3 separate regions of the Homo sapiens genome follow, and all the other regions are linked to region 2. Evidence: promoter capture Hi-C in 16 types of primary human blood cells and fetal thymus (Javierre and others, 2016). All regions are on one chromosome and are shown on one strand. The core of a region is centred on a gene start or on the middle of the fragment in contact, and the rest is flanking DNA. Distances in the headings are between cores, read along the strand shown. Region 1 overlaps KNTC1 (kinetochore associated 1). Region 2 holds the start of GCN1 (GCN1 activator of EIF2AK4). Region 3 holds the start of DIABLO (diablo IAP-binding mitochondrial protein).

Region 1 (2,700 bases), core at 154-2,653, 2.3 Mb before region 2:
CCAGTCCTATTCTTCCCTGACAAAATACAGCTAATCACCTCATTTTATGACTATTTCAAAAGTCATCTTCTCCAGGTGTAATCCTTGAAAATTCCCCAACATTCTGATCCCTCTTCTACCTTATTTTTTTCTTTATTTTGAGACAGGGTCTCCCTCTGTCGCTCAGGTTGGAATGCAGTGATGCCATCATAACTCACTGCAGCCTTAAACACCTGGGCTCAAGGGATCTTCGTGCCTCCCCAACCCAAGTAGCTGGGACTACACATGCACACCATCACACCTGGCTAATTTTCTTTTTCTTTTATAGAGACGGGGTTTTCACTGTGTTGGCCAGGCTGGTCTAGAACTCCTGGACTCAAACGATCCTTCCATCCCAACCACCCAAAGTGCCGGGAATACAAATGTGAGGCACTGCGCCCAGCCTCCTTCTTATCTTTTTACTTGCTTCTTCAACTAGTAAAAGGTTACATGAAGGCACTGCCAACAAGGAATGGCACTAAAATTAGCCGGGCGTGGTGGCGGACGCATGTAATCCCAGCTACTGGGGAGGCTGAGGCACGAGAATCACTTGAACCCGAGAGGCAGAGGTTGCAGTGAGCCAAGATCACACCACTGCACTCCAGCCTGGGCAACAGAGCAAGACTCTGCCTCAAAAAAAAAAAAAAGAAAAGGAACGGCACTATATCTTCTAGGGATCTGTCCACACTGTTCTCTCTAGACTCTTCTCTCTAGACTGTTCTCCTTCTTAAGGCCCAAAGCAAGTGTAGTTTATTTTAATTTTTATTTTTTTTAGAGATGTTGTCTCCCTATGTTGCCCAGGCTGGCCTCAAACTCCTGGGCTCACGCCATTCTCCTGCCTCAGCCTGAGTAGCTGGGACTACAGGACATGCCACCACACCGGGCTCACACATAGTTTCTTAAGGAAATGCTCCTTAAACTGCCCAACCGACAATGAGCTCTCCAGCCACTGAATTCCTACTCATTTACTGTCTGTACTGTTCATTTGGCATTTAGCATATACTGACTTGCACAGCTAAGCATCTTTTATTGTTTGTGTCCTGTGTGCCTAACTTTAAGGTAAGATCCTAAAAGGAATGAATAAGATGCCATCTTATGTCCAAGTTCCTAATATTGGGCTCAGAACATAGCAGATGTTCAAAACATGTTGGTAAGTGTATGCCACGTGCTAATAATAGATAGAATTTTAGTTCCTACCAGAATCCAAGATTCTATACACATGCACTATTATTTTTCAACAGCAACCTTGAGGTCAAGAAAGGCCTGAGCCACTTCCACGTTTTAAGGCTCCTGATAATATTAAAAAATAAAGCCCGGGCACAGTGATTCACACCTGTAATCCCAGAACTTTGGGAGGCCGAGGTGGGTGGATCACAAGGTCAAGAGATCGAGACCATCCTGCTCAACATGGTGAAGCCTCATCTCTACTAAAAACACAAAAATTAGCTGGGTGTGGTGGCTCGTGTCTGTATTCCCAGTTACTCGGGAGGGTGAGGCAGAAGAATCGCTTGAACCCAGGAGGCGGAGGTTGCAATGAGCCAAGATCACGCCACTGCACTCCAGCCTGGTGACAGAGCAAGAGTTCGTCTCAAAAAAAAAAAAAAAAAAAAAGAAAAATTAGCCAGGCGTGGTGGCAGGCGCCTATAATCCCAGCTACTCCAGAGGCTGAGGCAGGAGAATCACTTGAATCCAGGAGTGGGAGGTTGTAATGAGTCAATATCACATCACTGTACTCCAGCCTGGGCTACAGAGTGAGAGTCTCTCTTAAAAAAAAAAAAAACAAATGGCCGGGTGCGGTGGCTCAAGCCTGTAATCCCAGCACTTTGGGAGGCCGAGCCGGGCGGATCACGAGGTCAGGAGATCGAGACCATCCTGGCTAACATGGTGAAACCCCGTCTCTACTAAAAATACAAAAAATTAGCTGGGCATAGTGGCGGGCGCCTGTAGTCCCAGCTACTTGAGAGGCTGAGGCAGGAGAATGGCGTGAACCTGGGAGGCAGAGCTTGCAGTGAGCTGAGATCATGCCACTGTACTCCAGCCTGGGCGACAGAGCAAGACTCCATCTCAAACAAACGAACAAAAATACTAAAAAATAGACGTCATTTCCTCATTATAGAAACTGTGCTTTCAGATGTCTCGAAGGATTCAAAAAATTTAAAAAAAAGAAATGCTGCACTTGAAATTTTTGCCTCTAATAAATAATGACAAAAAATACAATGAGATTTGTACTACTCATAATTAATGTTTATCTTATACTAATTATCTTATTGTTGGATTATACTGCCTTTAACATGATTCATGGTACATTTAAAGCGGTACAAATCAGGCACAGTGACTCATGCCTTTAATCCCAGCACTTTGGGAGGCCAAGGCAGGCGGATCACTTGAGGCCAGGAGTTCAAGACCAGCCTGGGCAACCCCATCTCTACTAAAAATACGAAAATTTTTAGTAGCATGGTGGCACACACCTGTAATCCCAGCTACTTGGGAAATTGAGACAGGAGAATTTTTTGAACCCAGGAGGCAGAGGTTGCAGTGAGCCGAGCCGAGATAGCACCACAGCAAGAAAAAGCAGCACAGTTCCACAGACACCAGCTTAAAGCTGCATAAAGAATGATTTCTTTTTAAAATCCCATCAGCCAGTTTAAAAAAAAAAGTCAAAAGCATACATTTAATTCCCTT
Region 2 (2,804 bases), core at 151-2,650:
AACTCGGTGGTAACCAATTTATATTTTCGAGATAGTCTCAAATATATTTGAGACTGGGGTGCAGTGGCTTGGACTTGGCTCACTGCAACCTCCGCCTCCTGGGTTCAAGTGATTCTCCTGCCTCAGCCTCCCAAGTAGCTGCAATTACCGGAGGCTGCCACCACACCGGGCTAATTTTTTTGTTGTTGAGACAGTCTCGTCCTGTCACCCAGACTGGAGTGCAATGGTATGGTCTCAGCTCACTGCAACCTCTGCCTCTCGGGTTCAAGCGGTTCTCCCACCTCAGCCTCCCCAGTAGCTGGGACTACAGGCATGTGCCACCACTCGGCTAATTTTTGTACTTTTAGTAGAGACGGGGTTTCACTATGTTGGCCAGGCTGGTCTGGAACTCCTGACCTTGTGATCTGCCCGCCCTGTCCTCCCGAAGCGCTGGAATTATACAAGGGTGAGCCACCGCACCCGGCCTTTTTTTTTTTTTTTTTTTTTTTTGGTATTTTTAGTAGAGACAAGGTTTTGTCATGTTGACCAGGCTGGTCTGGAAATCCTAACATCAGGTTGATCTACCCACCTCAGCCTCCCAAAGTGCTGGGATTACAGGCGTGAGCCACCATGCCTGGCCCCAGTATTTAAAGAGAAAGCAGCATCTGCTGAGAATAGGTGTTTTTGTTGTGATTCCTGTATTTCACTTAGAGATCTGTCTGCTGGAACATGATATATTCATTCTAACTAGGTCTGTGTCAAAGGTTTGAAAGCCACTGCTAACAGGGCTGACAACTAAGCTGTGGAGACCCTGTTCCCTAAATTGCAGCCACGTCTGCACGTAGCCTCTTGCCCTGTGGCCTTCAAAACTCCCAGCCTGGGGCGTCCAGCATTTCCCCAGGGCAGGGGCCTCGTTCAGTTCTGAACCTTCCCTGACCTCCGTATCCAGCCACGTTTGCTAACCCTGTACAAGTCATCCGCCAACTGAACTACAAACTGAGGACAAAAGACTAGTTCACCGACTCTTTTACCTAGTTTTTAGTTCCTGCTATCTAGGAAGCAACACTTGTTTTTCTAAAGAACTTAGTCATCACTCAGGAAAGGCCCACGTAGGGCTGGCCCTGCGGGCTGGAAGTGGGTCAGGGGCTGCAAGGCGGGCCCATAGCGTTACACCGCGGGCTCACCACGTTACAAGCGCTAGTCTCCCACGAGGCGCCCGGGGCTGAAGAGCGGGCCCTGGGGAGGAGGCCTTGTGGCTCGGGCGCGGGCCAACTTTAAGCCCGTGATCCGGCTGCCCGGGCTGCAGCGGCCGCCGTCCTGCCCGGGGGCACCAAGCCCGGGGCCCTGCCCCCGCTGGCTCCCGGCCTCGCCCTGCCGCGTGGGCCACGCTGTGACCCGGAAGCGTTCCGGAAGCGGTTCCGGAGTCAGCCCCGGCAGGATGGCGGCGGACACGCAGGTGAGGCGGGCGGCTGCGGGGCCAACGCGGCCAGGGACTGGGTGCGGACGGTGGCCGTCGGGCGGGGCCCCTCTCGCTCCTCGGCTTAGGGGCGTTGGAGGTGGTGGCTGTGGAGGTCGTAGTCTCGGGGCCGTCTCAGGCTGGACTCTCAGGGCTGCGGGCTTGGCCCGGCCCGGGCGGCGCAGGCAGACCGCGGGCTCGAGGAGTCCGGGGCTCCCGCCTCGACTTCAGCAGCTGGAGCTCGGCGGGGCCTTTGCCCGACCCCAGAGTTGCAGAAGTTCACTTTACCGAGCCTCTACTTCTTTTCTCCAAAGCCCTCCGGCTGTGAGCCCCGGGCCAACGCCAAGTCTTCCTTAAACTTTGTATTCAGCAAATATTCTTTGAGCACCTACTATGAGCAGGGACTTTGAGTGTAGTCTTTGGATTCATACAGATCTGGGCTTGAGTTCCTGCTCGTCGATTTCTGTGACATGCCAAACAAGTGACTTAACCCCGCCAAGTCTGCCTTTTCATCTATAAAATGAAGTTAAAACAATACTTATCTTAAAAGGTTGTTGTGAAGGTTCAGTGAGATAAAATACGGCTTGATATATGTTGGTTGTTATCAGATCCAGGGTTAGTGAAAAGAACTGTCCTGTCCAGGAAGAGTGTTACCTATGGGTACCTTGTAGTTCAGGAAGGACCTGGGAAAACCTTTTCCTCCACCCAGTTGTTATGTTTTAAGGTGAAAAGACATTGTCATGAGGCAGGGGAAGAACAGGTGTCTAAGGACAGCTGGGCTGATTTGGTGTCTCCAGGGTGATGGGATTGATTTTTATGTGTAGGCCCAGAAAATGACCACTTAAGCATTCAAAAAGACATTTACTGAGACTCCTATGCAGGTGGCTGATGTTCAAGTTATGTTGTACTGAATACTAGAAAGAAAAGCTTAGTATGAGAGGGTTAGGGGAATACATGCTGAATGTTTAACATTGATACTCACTTGAGGGAAAAATCTCTAGAGCTGCAATGTCCAGTATGGCAGCCACATGGCTTAAGTTTGTTAAAATTAAATTAAATAAAAAAATTCATTGTTTGGCTGGGCGTGGTGGCTCACCCTGTAATCCCAGCACTTTGGGAGGCCAAGGCGGGTGGATCAGTTGAGGTCAGGAGTTTGAGACTAGTCTGACCAACGTGGCAAAACCCCGTCTCTACTAAAAATGCAAAAAATTAACCGGGTATGGTGGCATGTCTGTAATTCCAGCTACTCAGGAGGCTGAGGCATGAGAATCGCTTGAACCTGGGAGGCAGAGGTTGCAGTGAGCTGAGATCGCACCACTGCGCTCCAGCCTGAGCAACAAGAGTGGGACTCTGTCTCAAAAAAAAAAAA
Region 3 (2,922 bases), core at 153-2,652, 2.0 Mb before region 2:
TCTGCCGAGATCGCAGAATACACACAAGCTACCTTTGGGCACCAGAGCAGACAGAACCGCGGAGCTTCAGGGTGGAAGATTCGTGGAAACTTTGCCAAGTAAGTGAGGTGGGGAGAGAAGGAAGCCAGTGCCTGACACTGTGGGGAGTGGCTGGGCAAAGCAGCATTGGAGGTGTTGTAGGGTTCCTACTGTCTGATGAGCTGGTGTGGGGTTCTTACTGTCTGATGTCGTCTCTGGTGGAAGTTAGCAGGGCTGGGGCAGATGCACAGAGCACGGTGGCGGGGGTGAGCCCAGGATCGGATTGATGCCCACCCACCACCTGGCACCCTGCAGTCCCAGCTGGCCAGAAGGCAAGCATGCTGGACCACAAAGCAAAGATCCTCCAGCTCTGCTGCTGGCAAGCCTTGGGGCCAGGGGACTCACAGAAGAGCAGGTTTGGGCCTGTGCCTTCCTCCTGCCCAAATGGGTCTCTCTCCCCTTCCCCTTCCAGCCAGGGCCGCAGCTGGGGCTGCAGCTTGAGTGACGGGAAAAGAAAGGTTTACTCCACCAGCGCATTAGCGGCACTCACAGCATTAAAAATGCAGGAGGTGGTGGGAGGAGCGGGCCAGGGAGGAAAACTCATGCAGCTGCGGGGCGCGGGGAAGAGCCGGGCTTCTGCCTCCTCAGCCCGGATCAGAGCCGAAGAACGAGGGCAGTTTGGGTTGAGAAGGATTCTCCAGTGTAACCGAGAAGCGAGCGTCCAGGAGGCTGTTGGGGAGGTCGGCACTGTGGGCTTCCTGGCCTTCGTTTGCTGTTTCGAGGGCCAGGACCTCGTGTGTTCCCGTCCGCCCCTCTGGGACGGCGCCAGCCCGGCAGGCCGCCGACCGTCCTGGGGCTCCCGCGCAGCGCGATGCCGGCCTCGTCCACCGTCCACGTGCTGCAGCTGCTGCGGGAGCTGCTCGCCTTCGTGCTCCTCAGCTACACGGTGCTCATCGGGGCGCTGCTGCTGGCCGGCTGGACCACTTACTTCCTGGTGCTGAAGTGACAGCGCCGTCGCCGCGCCCGGCCCCGCCTCCCGCCCGGCCCCGCCTCCCGCCCGGCCCCGCCTCCCTAACTCACCAGGAAATTCCCTTCAAGCCCTGGCCCGAACTGAGTCCCCGCCCACCCGCCAGCGTCACGGCGCCCGACTCAGCTCCGCGCCGGACCCACCTCCGCGCCCTCAGGCCCTGCATATGCCCCGCCCCGCGCGGAAGTTCCGGCGGTTGGTTGCCTTGCGCGGCCGTTACAGCCTTTGCCCTAAGCCTCGCCCCCTTTCCCCCTGCCTGCCCAATCCCGACTGCTTCCTTGGGTGGGGGCGTGGCTATGGGGCGAGGCGCTCTCAGGTGGAGGCCGTGCCCCGCTCCGCGCTCACGAAGCTGCGTCACTTCCGGCGTGTGCGTCTGGCGTCCGCGCGCTGCACAATGGCGGCTCTGAAGAGTTGGCTGTCGCGCAGCGTAACTTCATTCTTCAGGTACCGCTGCGGCCGCGTAGAGGGGACAGGACCAGAGGGAGGGACCGACGCGGACAGCGCTGTGGCCCGGCCCACGGCGCCCGCCTTCCTTACGCGCTCATCTCTCGTCCGCCCAGCTGGGTCGCGGCGTCTCGCTCCGGTCGGGAGGACTGAGGACAGCCCCGCCTCCGCCCCCTGGGTCAAGCCCGGCTTCCTTTTCAGTTCGTCCATCTTCTAGAAACGAGTCCCCGAGACCCCGGGCTGCCTTCTTGGGGCTGCTCCGCCTCCTGACCAGCCCTCGTCAGCCACTCGAAGTCCCTGAGGAGACGTGGAGAGGAGGAGGGACACGGCATGGGGGGAGTCCGGGAAGGGAGACGAGCGTCTGAAGACGTCCTCCCGAGGGCAGAAGGGGCCGGGGGAGCTGGCGCAGGGCTCTCTACCTAGCGCTGCAGGCTCCTGGGCGATTGTAGCGGGACCGTCACACACAACTGGCACCCAGGCCAGGGGTCCAGAGCTAAATTCTGCCTGCAGGAGCGGTTATTGTGGCATCCGTTTCTAAAAAGTTTAAAGGCAACATTTTATTTTATTTTAATTTTTTTGAGACAAGATCTGCCTCTGTCGCCCAGGCTGGAGTGCAGTGGCGAGATCTCAGCTCACTGCAACCTGTGCCTCCCGGCTTCAAGCGATTCTCAGCCTCAGCCTCCCGAGTAGCTGGGATTGCAGGCGCCCGCCACCACGCCCGGCTAATTTTTTTTTTTCTTTTTGTTTTGTTTGAGACTCAGTCTCGCTCTGTTGCCCAGGCTGAAGTGCAGTGGGGCGCTCTCGGCTCACTGCAACCTCTGCCTCCCAGGTTCAAGCGATTCTCCTGCCTCAGCCTCCCGAGTAGCTGGGATTACAGGAGCGTGCCACCACTCCGGGCTAATTTTTGTGTTTTAAGTAGAGATGGGGTTTCACCATGTTGGTCAGGCAGATTTCGAATTCCTGACCTCAAGTGATCCACCCGCCTCGGCCTTTATTTACTTATTTTTTTTTAATAGACACGGGGTCATGTTGCCAGCCATGTTGCCCAGGCTGGTCGTGAACTCCTGGGCTCAAGTGATCCTCCCGCCTTGCCCTTGGCCTTCCAAGTGCTAGGATTACAGGCGTGAGCCACCAACACCCTGCCTGAGGCAACATTTTAAACTTGGTGTATGTTGAAAATTTCAAAACCCCTCAGCTGTCCTGCATCCTCATTTAGGTTCCTGCTTGGCTCGAGTTTGAGTTTACAGCCCCTGCAAGTAAATCCAAGAGCCTGTTACAGATTGGCGGTCGTGCCTTATGAAATCTGACTTCTACTTCCAGGTACAGACAGTGTTTGTGTGTTCCTGTTGTGGCTAACTTTAAGAAGCGGTGTTTCTCAGAATTGATAAGACCATGGCACAAAACTGTGACGATTGGCTTTGGAGTAACCCTGT

Evidence for each region. The method cuts DNA at HindIII sites, captures the fragments that hold promoters and counts their contacts. A CHiCAGO score of 5 or more calls a contact.
Region 1: a fragment that was not itself captured here is called in contact with the fragment with the promoter of GCN1 in region 2 in 1 of 17 cell types (monocytes); the score reaches 5.2 in monocytes.
Region 3: a contact is called between the fragment with the promoter of DIABLO here and the fragment with the promoter of GCN1 in region 2, in 1 of 17 cell types (monocytes). The highest score is 9.2, in monocytes.

The regions. Positions count from the first base shown.
Region 1 is chr12:122,531,136-122,533,835 of GRCh38, reverse strand. The region is part of intron 2 of KNTC1 (kinetochore associated 1); the gene reads right to left. Among named protein-coding and RNA genes, the nearest start is that of KNTC1, 5.2 kb to the right of the region's middle. The HindIII fragment of the contact is 4,966 bases long and covers 1-2,700 here.
Region 2 is chr12:120,193,311-120,196,114 of GRCh38, reverse strand. GCN1 (GCN1 activator of EIF2AK4) reads left to right here and starts at 1,400. Exons shown (of 58, transcript NM_006836.2): 1 at 1,400-1,435. The coding sequence starts at 1,418. RefSeq lists a silencer at 1,103-1,692. The HindIII fragment of the contact is 5,843 bases long and covers 1-2,364 here.
Region 3 is chr12:122,224,532-122,227,453 of GRCh38, reverse strand. It overlaps DIABLO (diablo IAP-binding mitochondrial protein), which reads left to right and starts at 1,402. Exons shown (of 6, transcript NM_001371333.1): 1 at 1,402-1,489; 2 at 2,810-2,922. The coding sequence starts at 1,440. It overlaps LOC128125816, which reads left to right and starts at 890. Exons shown (of 1, transcript NM_001414998.1): 1 at 890-1,024. The coding sequence starts at 890. The coding sequence ends at 1,024. LOC101593348 (a long non-coding RNA gene) reads right to left here and starts at 1,012. Exons shown (of 1, transcript NR_103497.1): 1 at 1-1,012. RefSeq lists enhancers at 1-256, 257-1,088, 1,038-1,332, 1,386-1,625, 1,636-1,685 and 1 more and a silencer at 956-1,095. The HindIII fragment of the contact is 3,750 bases long and covers 1-2,922 here.